Linked DNA regions of Homo sapiens: regions 1 and 2 are each linked to region 3. The links are contacts of gene promoters, found by promoter capture Hi-C in human tissues and cell types (Jung and others, 2019). All regions are on one chromosome and are shown on one strand. The core of a region is centred on a gene start or on the middle of the fragment in contact, and the rest is flanking DNA. Distances in the headings are between cores, read along the strand shown. Region 1 has its middle 17 kb from the start of TSPEAR. Region 2 overlaps UBE2G2 (ubiquitin conjugating enzyme E2 G2). Region 3 holds the start of KRTAP10-5 (keratin associated protein 10-5).

Region 1 (2,700 bases), core at 11-2,510, 150 kb before region 3:
CCCAGAGTTCCTATATAGAAATTCTAACCCTGGTGTGGTGGCGCTAGGAGGCAGGGCGTTTGGGAGGTGATTAGGTTGTGGCCCTCATGATGGGGTCCTCTTATGAAGGAGACCCCAGAGAGCATGCTGTCACTTTTGCTCTGTCTGCCACATGAGGGTGCAAGAAGAAGACAGCCGCGAGCAAACCAGGAAGAGTGTCCTTGCCAGAACCCGACCCTGCTGCCACCTTGGCCTCCAACTTCCAGCCCCTAGACTGTGAGGAACACAGCTTGTTGTTGAAACACCCAGTCAGTGGTATTTTCTTACAGCAGCCAAAATCCACTAACGGTCATCAAGAAGCTGATGTGTGATTAGGAACCACCTCTTGCCCAATGTGCGGGGAATCAGTTGGACCCTGACGGAGCTGCCTCGGTCAGGAGTCCCGGCTGCAGGGGACATCCACAGAACCCAGAAGTTATGGAGAAGCCACTGGGGCACAGGCAGCCTGGCTCCCTAGGATGCAGAAGACACCAGGCTCTCCGCCCCCTCCCTGCTGCAGGCCGCTTTCCTGTGCCTCTTGCTATGGTCAGGGGTGCCGTGTTCCCCTGGAACACGTGCCGCCTTCTGCACTGCCTTGAGTCTTTGGCCCGCTTGTGTCTTGGACTTACCGCAGTGCTGTTTTGTGAGGGGCACAGACGCACACCATCAGCGCTCAAGAGGCAGACACGAGATCGGGTGATACTGGGCCAGCAGGCCAGTGTGCAGCACCCTCCACTTCCCGGCCCTCTTGGATGGTCACCTGTCCTGAGCCTGTGGCCCAGCGGGGCCCTGTCCCCTTGATCTGTGCATATTCGCAGGGGCGGGGTGCTGGTGGAGAACTCAAGGGGGCCCAGGGCTGGGAGCAGCCGGTGCTCCTGGTGAGCTCACTCTGACCAGCTGCACAGGCCATGTGGAGGAGGGGACGATCCCCAGGTGCCCCACAGGCCCCCTATCCCCCGTCTCTTCAGGAGAGGGATGACGGCCACTCCCAGTGGTGACTCAATGCCTGTGCCACCCACATCATCAGCTGTGCTGGCGGCTCACAGAAGACGACGGGACAGTCCATGTTTTATGCCCATATATCATATATTTTTTATCTACCATGGGTATCTACATACATTCTTGCTGCACGGTGCCGAGATGCTCAGTGTCTATCTCTGACAGTGAAATTGTGATCAGTTTTCATTCCTACTTTTTGTCATCCATATGTGATGAGGTTTCAACAAGGAACCTATTATTACTTGTGTCGTAGGAAAAATAAAGTTATTTTTAAAAGCAAACGTATGTCTAAGTGATGTAATCTATTTGCTGGGTGTAATAGGCTAGAATGCTCTCAGAAGCCTCCCACCTGACAGCTCCCCTCAAATCTGTCAGCGGGGAATAAAACTGTAAGGGCGCGATGGCCTTTTGGTTGTTAGTTTAGCAAACTGCACGAGTAAGACACAAGCGCGTTCTCGTCCATCAACACCAAGTGGGTCATCGTGGCGGGGCAGGACCAGTGCTATGAACTCGCTGTAATTTGGAATTCTACCCGAGAAAAATGCGGTTATTCAAGGGACACTTTGACCCTTGCATTTGAAGTTCTTGCATTTTACTTGGACCAACATTATCAATGCTGGGGGTCTATGGTCTCCACTCTCCCACCACAAACATCGCTGGTGGTGATGCTTAATGAGTTGCCATTTTGACTTCTGATGCTGAGAATAGCACTAATGCCAAGATATACTTTTTTTTTTTTTTTTTTTTTTTTTTTGAGATGGAGTTTTGCTCTTGTTGCCCAGGCTGGAGTGCAATGGCGCGATCTCGGCTCAACACAACCTCTGCCTCCGGGGTTCAAATGATTCTCCTGCCTCAGCCTCCCGAGTAGCTGGGATTACAGGCATGCGCCATCACGCCCAGCTAATTTTGTATTTTTAGTAGAGATGGGGTTTCTCCATGTTGGTCAGGCTGGTCTCGAACTCCTGACCTCAGGTGATCTGCCCGCCTTAGCCTCCCAAAGGATATGCTTTTATCTACCTACTCTTGTTCTGAATAATGACCTCGTGTGTCTTCTCTGAGGATGGTTTTTCCTGAGCCCTGGCTGCCAGGGCGTCTCCCAGGGCTGCAGGTGTCTCCAGGTCTCTCGTCCTCTGGGTCTCTCACTGCTGCCCCGGACTCCATCCCCTTTCCTGTCCCCTCCATGCAGGCTCCACTGTTCCCAGGACTCTCAGCTCTTCCTGCTGCTTGTTCACTCTGCTCCCGCAGCTTGGAAGCCTGTGGGCCACTTCCTGCCACTTGCCTGAAGGACGATGACCCCTCAGAGAAGCTCAGCAGCCCAGGACTGCCCCCATCTTCTCCGCCCACAGCACCCCTAGGGTCACGGTGCTGCCTTGCTGTGCCACCCGGCTCATGTGCCCCTCCCATGCCACTGTCACCAGTGCCAGGCCCTGGGAGCCCAGGGGTCTCTCTGGAGCAAGCACTCCCTCGGGGTTCGTGAGGCAAATGAATGATGTATGATCTCTAATACTGTCAGCCATTCTGATGGAAAGCGCTGGCACTGTGGTCCCTGGAAGTCCATTAGGACTGTGGTGACAGGCTGTCCTCGTGAGGTGTCCCTTCCTTCGGGGAAGCCTGGGGTCTTCTGACCAGAGGCCTCAGCCGTCCTCTGAGCTCTGTGGGCTGAGAGTTGAGGCTGGGCCCATT
Region 2 (2,700 bases), core at 180-2,679, 210 kb before region 3:
AAGTTCAAAGTTCCACAGATCTCTAGGGCAGGGGCAAAATCTCACCATTCTCTTTGTTGAAACATAGCAAGGGTGACCATTGCTCCAGTTCCCAAGAAGTTCCTCTTCTCTTTTTCAGACCACCTCAGCCTGGGCTTCATTGTCCATGTCACTATCAGCATTTTGGTCAAAAGCATTCAGCAAGTCTCTAGGAAGTTCCAGACTTTCCCACATCTTCCTTCTTCTAAGCCCTTCAAACTGTTCCAACCTCTGCCTACTACCCAGTTCTGAAGTTGCTTCCACATTTTCAGGTTATCTTTATAGCAGTACCCCTGGTACCAATTTACTGTATTCATCTGTTTTCACACTCCTATAAGAACTTCCCTGAGACTGGATAATTTATAAAGGAAAGAGGTTTAATTGACTCACAGTTCCACATGGCTAGGGAGGCCTCAGGAAACTTATCATGACAGAAGCCGAAGGGGAAGCAAGCACCTTCTTCACAAGGTGGCAAGAAAGAAGAGTGAAGGAGGAACTTTCGAACACTTATAAAACCACCAGATCTCATGAGAACTCACTGTCATGAGAACAGCATGGAGGAAATTGCCCCCATGATCCAGTCACCTTCCACTAGGTTCCTCCCTCAACACCTGGAGATTACAATTCAAGATGAAATTTGTGTGGGGACACAAAGCCAAACCATATCAATGGACATTTGGGTTGTTTCCAGTTTGGGGCTATTACGAATTTAGCTACTATGAACATTCACACAAAAGTCTATGGCAACATAAGACCCAGTAGAATTGCTGGGTCTTAGAGTCAATATATATGTAATTTTAGTGGAAATGGTCAAACTTCTTTCCCAAAGGGTAACCAAACCATTTTGCATTCCCATCAGTGGTGCATGAGAGATCTACTTGCTAAACTTGCCAGCACTTTAAGTCTTTAATTTTGGCCATTCTTTTGTGACTAAAGATACTGATAATGCTGAAGCTATTGAGCTGTATCTTATTGTGGTTTTAATTTGCATTACCCTTATGATTCACAATGTTGAGCATTTTCTCATGTGCTTATTAGCCATCTGTTTTAGTCAGTTCAGGCTGCTGTAAAAAAATACCAAAGACCAGGGAGCTTAAACAACAAACATTTATTGCTCCCAATTCTGGAGGCTGGGAAGTCTGGTGAGGGCTGTCTTCCTGGTTTGCAGATGACTGTCTTCTCCTTGTGCCCTTACATGGCCAGAGGCAAATCTCTCGTTTCTTCTTATAAAGGCACTAACTCCATTCATGAGAGTTCTGCCCTCCTGACCTAATCTCCTCCCAAAGGTCCCACCTCCCAATACCACATACATTAGGATTCAACATAGGAATTTTGGGGGGACGCAAGCGTTTGGACCACAGCATCATTCGTGTTGACTCTGACAGTGGCTCTTTTCAACTCTGCCTCCATTTTTCTTCTTACCTATTTTGATTTTTATATGTGGTGTGAGATGGGGAAAGTTTGATTTTTTTTTGTCTTAGAGATGAGCATCATTCATGGAAAAGACTGCCCTTTGCCTCTGGGCCATAGCTCTGTGTTCCCTCGAGTCAGGGTCTCTGTTGGTACAGGTATGCTTCTGGGCTTTCTCTTGTGCCCCATTGTTCAATTTAACTTTGAGCCAGTGCTACGTTGCCTTAATTTCCATAGCTCTGTAAGGAAGGCTTGGTAACTCATAGATGAAGCTTTCTGTTTATTCTTTTTTTTTTTTTTTTTTTTTGAGACAGAGTCTTGCTCTGTCACCCAGGCTGGAGTGCAGTGGCGCGATCTCGGCTCACTGCAACCTCCGCCTCCTGGGTTCAAGTGATCCTCCTGCCTCAGCCTCCCAAGTAGCTGGGACTACAGGTGCATGCCACCATGCCCGGCTAATTTTTCTATTTTTGGTAGAGATGGGATTTCGCCATGTTGGCCAGGCTGGTCTCGAACTCCTGACCTGAGGTGATCCACCCGCCTCGGCCTCCCAAAGTGCTGGGATTACAGGCGTGAGCCACCGCGCCTGGCCCTCTGTTTATTCTTTTTAAAGATAGTGTCTTGGCTATTCTGGATTGTTTGCATTTTTATATATCTTTTAGAAAGATATATATATGCCTCATATTCAGCAACTGTGCCAAACTCACTTTTACTAATTATCTTTAGATTCTTTTGGGCTTTCCTGTATATATGGACATAGCATCTGTGAATAATGAGTTTTATTTCTTTTTCAGTCCTTATACCTTATATTTATTTGGCAAGGATTTATTAATTTTCTGTCTCTTCAAAGAACCACCTTTTGGTTTCATTGATTTTTTTTTTTCTGTATGTTTGCTTACTGTTTTATTAATTTCCCCAGTCTCACTCTGGTTGCCCACTGGACTCCAGCCTGGGCAACCAGAGTGAGACCCTGTCTCAAAACTAAGCAACAAAGTAACCAGCAGGAACAGTTTGGAAAGACAGTGTACCCCTTATGTTTGCTTTTGCATTTGTAAAAAGAAAAAGAAAAAGAAAAGTCTATGTTTTGTTGGTATAAAGAACTATTTGGGCCGGCGCGGTGGCTCATGCCTGTAATCCCAGCACTTTGGGAGGCCGAGGCTGGCGGATCACGAGGTCAGGAGATCTAGACCATCCTGGCTAACACGGTGAAACCCCGTCTCTACTAAAAATACAAAAAATTAGCTGGGCGTGGTGGTGGGCGCCTGTAGTCCCAGC
Region 3 (2,700 bases), core at 34-2,533:
ATGCCCTGGAATAAAATAGTCTTTTACTCAGAAAATCAAATGAACTGCCACCAATGAGCAGAGCTTAACTGATGTCCAGTGAAACGAGGGGAAAAACGTTTAAATGCTCAACATAACATCATTACAGTGAGCCAAAAATGTATTTCATTCATCGTGAGACAAAATTAAAGTCACAAAAGGAAAGACCTTGAGAGATGAGTTATTTTTAAGAGCGCAAAACACTTCCTGAGTCTCCACATTGAAAGGCTCAATGAATTCTAACCACAGAAAGTAAAATAATGCACACGCATAGAAACAAAAGAAGAATAAAAAGAAAACCAAATGTTCCCAGAGAGTTAAACGGAGAGAGAGAGACAAACTATAAAAAATGACAAATGACCAACCTCAGTCTCTCATCAGCAACGCTGGACACTACAGAAAAATGGTGACACAGGTTCATCATTTTGAGAAAACAGATTTTTTGTTATTATTTATAATAATAATTCTGACTTAAAACCAGAATTATATACCCAGCTAAACTATCATATAAGTGTGAGGGTAAAGTTGAGTACATTTTTAGGCAAGAAAGAAATCTTAAAATGTATGTCCTAAAATCACCATATGTGAAAAAGTACTTGATCTGTCACCATGAGGAAATAAAAATGGAGAAAACCCAGAGCGCAGCTTCAAATAAAACAGAGAGAGGGCTCTGAGGGTGGCATGGAAGAGCTGAAGAGACAAGGATAAAGCACAGATCCACCAGATACCAAATCTCTGAGCATTCCCCTTACGAGGCACAAGGGGTTGAAGAGAGGGCCACTTAGCTTCATCGTACCCTCTGTGCCAGCTGCATTTTATAAGAAATGCATATTTTTCTACCTATTTATATTTTAATATGCTAAAAGTAATAAAATATATCCAATCAGTCCAAACACAGGATAGGTGAAACTAGAATTCCTCCCTTTAGAGAAGTCTTCATCTCTAAAACCTCTACTCAACAAAAGTTTGCTTGAAATATTTTCCACCACATTTCTGGGGCTAAAATAAGAACCGATGAAGAAACACGGCCCTGCAACATACACACAAGTTTAATGAGGGAAAAACAAACAGATAAACCAGCATGAATGACGCATCTCCAGCCACCAGCTCTAAACACCAACAAGGAAGAGAAGCTTGTGGAGCCTCCTGTCGGGACAACACACGCCAGGGAGGGATTTAAAAGCCCCACAGCCCTGAGCACCTCACTCACTCACTCCCTCCTTCACTCACTCACACACTCACTCACTCACACCTCCCCCAGCTCCCAGCTCACGTCTTCCCCACCCCAGCATGGCCGCGTGCACCATGTCCGTCTGCTCCAGCGCTTGCTCTGACTCCTGGCGAGTGGACGACTGCCCAGAGAGCTGCTGTGAGCCCCCCTGCGGCACCGCCCCCTGCCTGACCCTGGTCTGCACCCCAGTGAGCTGTGTGTCCAGCCCCTGCTGCCAGGCGGCCTGTGAGCCCAGCCCCTGCCAATCAGGCTGCACCAGCTCCTGCACGCCCTCGTGCTGCCAGCCGGCTTGCTGCGCCTCCTCCCCCTGCCAGCAGGCCTGCTGCGTGCCCGTCTGCTGCAAGCCTGTGTGCTGCCTGCCCACCTGCTCTAAGGATTCCTCTTCATGCTGCCAGCAGTCTAGCTGCCAGCCAACTTGCTGTGCCTCTTCCTCCTGCCAGCAGTCCTGCTGTGTGCCTGTCTGCTGCAAGCCCGTGTGCTGTGTGCCCACCTGTTCTGAGGATTCCTCTTCATGCTGCCAGCATTCTAGCTGCCAGCCGACTTGCTGCACCTCCTCCCCCTGCCAGCAGTCCTGCTACGTGCCTGTCTGTTGCAAGCCTGTCTGCTGCAAACCCATCTGCTGTGTGCCCGTCTGCTCTGGGGCTTCCACTTCATGCTGCCAGCAGTCTAGCTGTCAGCCGGCTTGCTGCACCACCTCCTGCTGCAGACCCTCCTCCTCCGTGTCCCTCCTCTGCCGCCCCATATGCAGGCCCGCCTGCTGCCTGCCCATCTCCTCCTGCTGTGCCCCTGCCTCCTCCTACCAGGCCAGCTGCTGCCGCCCGGCCTCCTGCGTGTCCCTCCTCTGCCGCCCCGCGTGCTCCCCCCTGGCCTGCTGAGGCCTCTGCTCAGGCCAGGAGTCCAGTTGCTGATGTGCACATCCCCCAGGGCCAACTGGTCCTGACTCGGGTTAGGAGGTTGCCCCCGCTTGGGACGGGGCCCCCATGTGCTGAGGTGACCCCCCCCTCCATACTCCCAGGAATCTCCATCCTCGAAGCTCCCCAGCTCCTGCCTCCCAGCAGGGGCCCACCTGCCTGTTGGGTCCCCTGTCCTCCCTCCCAGCTTCTCTGCCCCATGTCACTTGGCCTCGACTTGAACCTGTCAGCACCTCCTCCTGCTCCCCAATAAACTCCCCTTGGTCGCCTGATTCTCTTTTTCTGTAGTGCTCCTGGGGATACATGGTTTTGAGCTCAGATTGGTCTCTAGCCATGACTGTTTCTATGAATGAGTGACTTAACCTAGAAGTCACGGGGGACAGTGGCCTAACTCCTCCAGGGGGTCACCAGGTGGAACTCACAGCCACGCCCAGGAAGGCTCAGTCCCGGCTCAGCCTCCATGCCTGGGTCTTCCTGAGCCTGGTCATTGGCTGCCGTGCCCTGGGCTGTGGGGCTCTCCAGGCCCCAGGACTGTCCCAC

The links. The method cuts DNA at HindIII sites, captures the fragments that hold promoters and counts their contacts. A contact is called where the count stands out against the background at its distance.
Region 1: a fragment that was not itself captured here is called in contact with the fragment with the promoter of KRTAP10-5 in region 3 in 2 of the 25 tissues and cell types used here (IMR-90 fibroblasts and lymphoblastoid cells).
Region 2: a fragment that was not itself captured here is called in contact with the fragment with the promoter of KRTAP10-5 in region 3 in 3 of the 25 tissues and cell types used here (heart left ventricle, mesendoderm cells and thymus).

What each region holds. Positions count from the first base shown.
Region 1 is chr21:44,727,675-44,730,374 of GRCh38, reverse strand. No RefSeq gene overlaps it. Among named protein-coding and RNA genes, the nearest start is that of TSPEAR, 17 kb to the right of the region's middle. RefSeq lists an enhancer at 1-22. The HindIII fragment of the contact is 7,356 bases long and covers 1-2,700 here.
Region 2 is chr21:44,788,420-44,791,119 of GRCh38, reverse strand. All of the region lies in intron 1 of UBE2G2 (ubiquitin conjugating enzyme E2 G2), which reads left to right. Among named protein-coding and RNA genes, the nearest start is that of UBE2G2, 12 kb to the left of the region's middle. RefSeq lists a silencer at 2,504-2,700. The HindIII fragment of the contact is 3,302 bases long and covers 1-2,700 here.
Region 3 is chr21:44,579,187-44,581,886 of GRCh38, reverse strand. It overlaps KRTAP10-5 (keratin associated protein 10-5), which reads left to right and starts at 1,283. Exons shown (of 1, transcript NM_198694.3): 1 at 1,283-2,432. The coding sequence starts at 1,309. The coding sequence ends at 2,124. All of the region lies in intron 1 of TSPEAR (thrombospondin type laminin G domain and EAR repeats), which reads left to right. RefSeq lists enhancers at 959-1,548, 1,549-2,139. The HindIII fragment of the contact is 3,934 bases long and covers 1-2,700 here.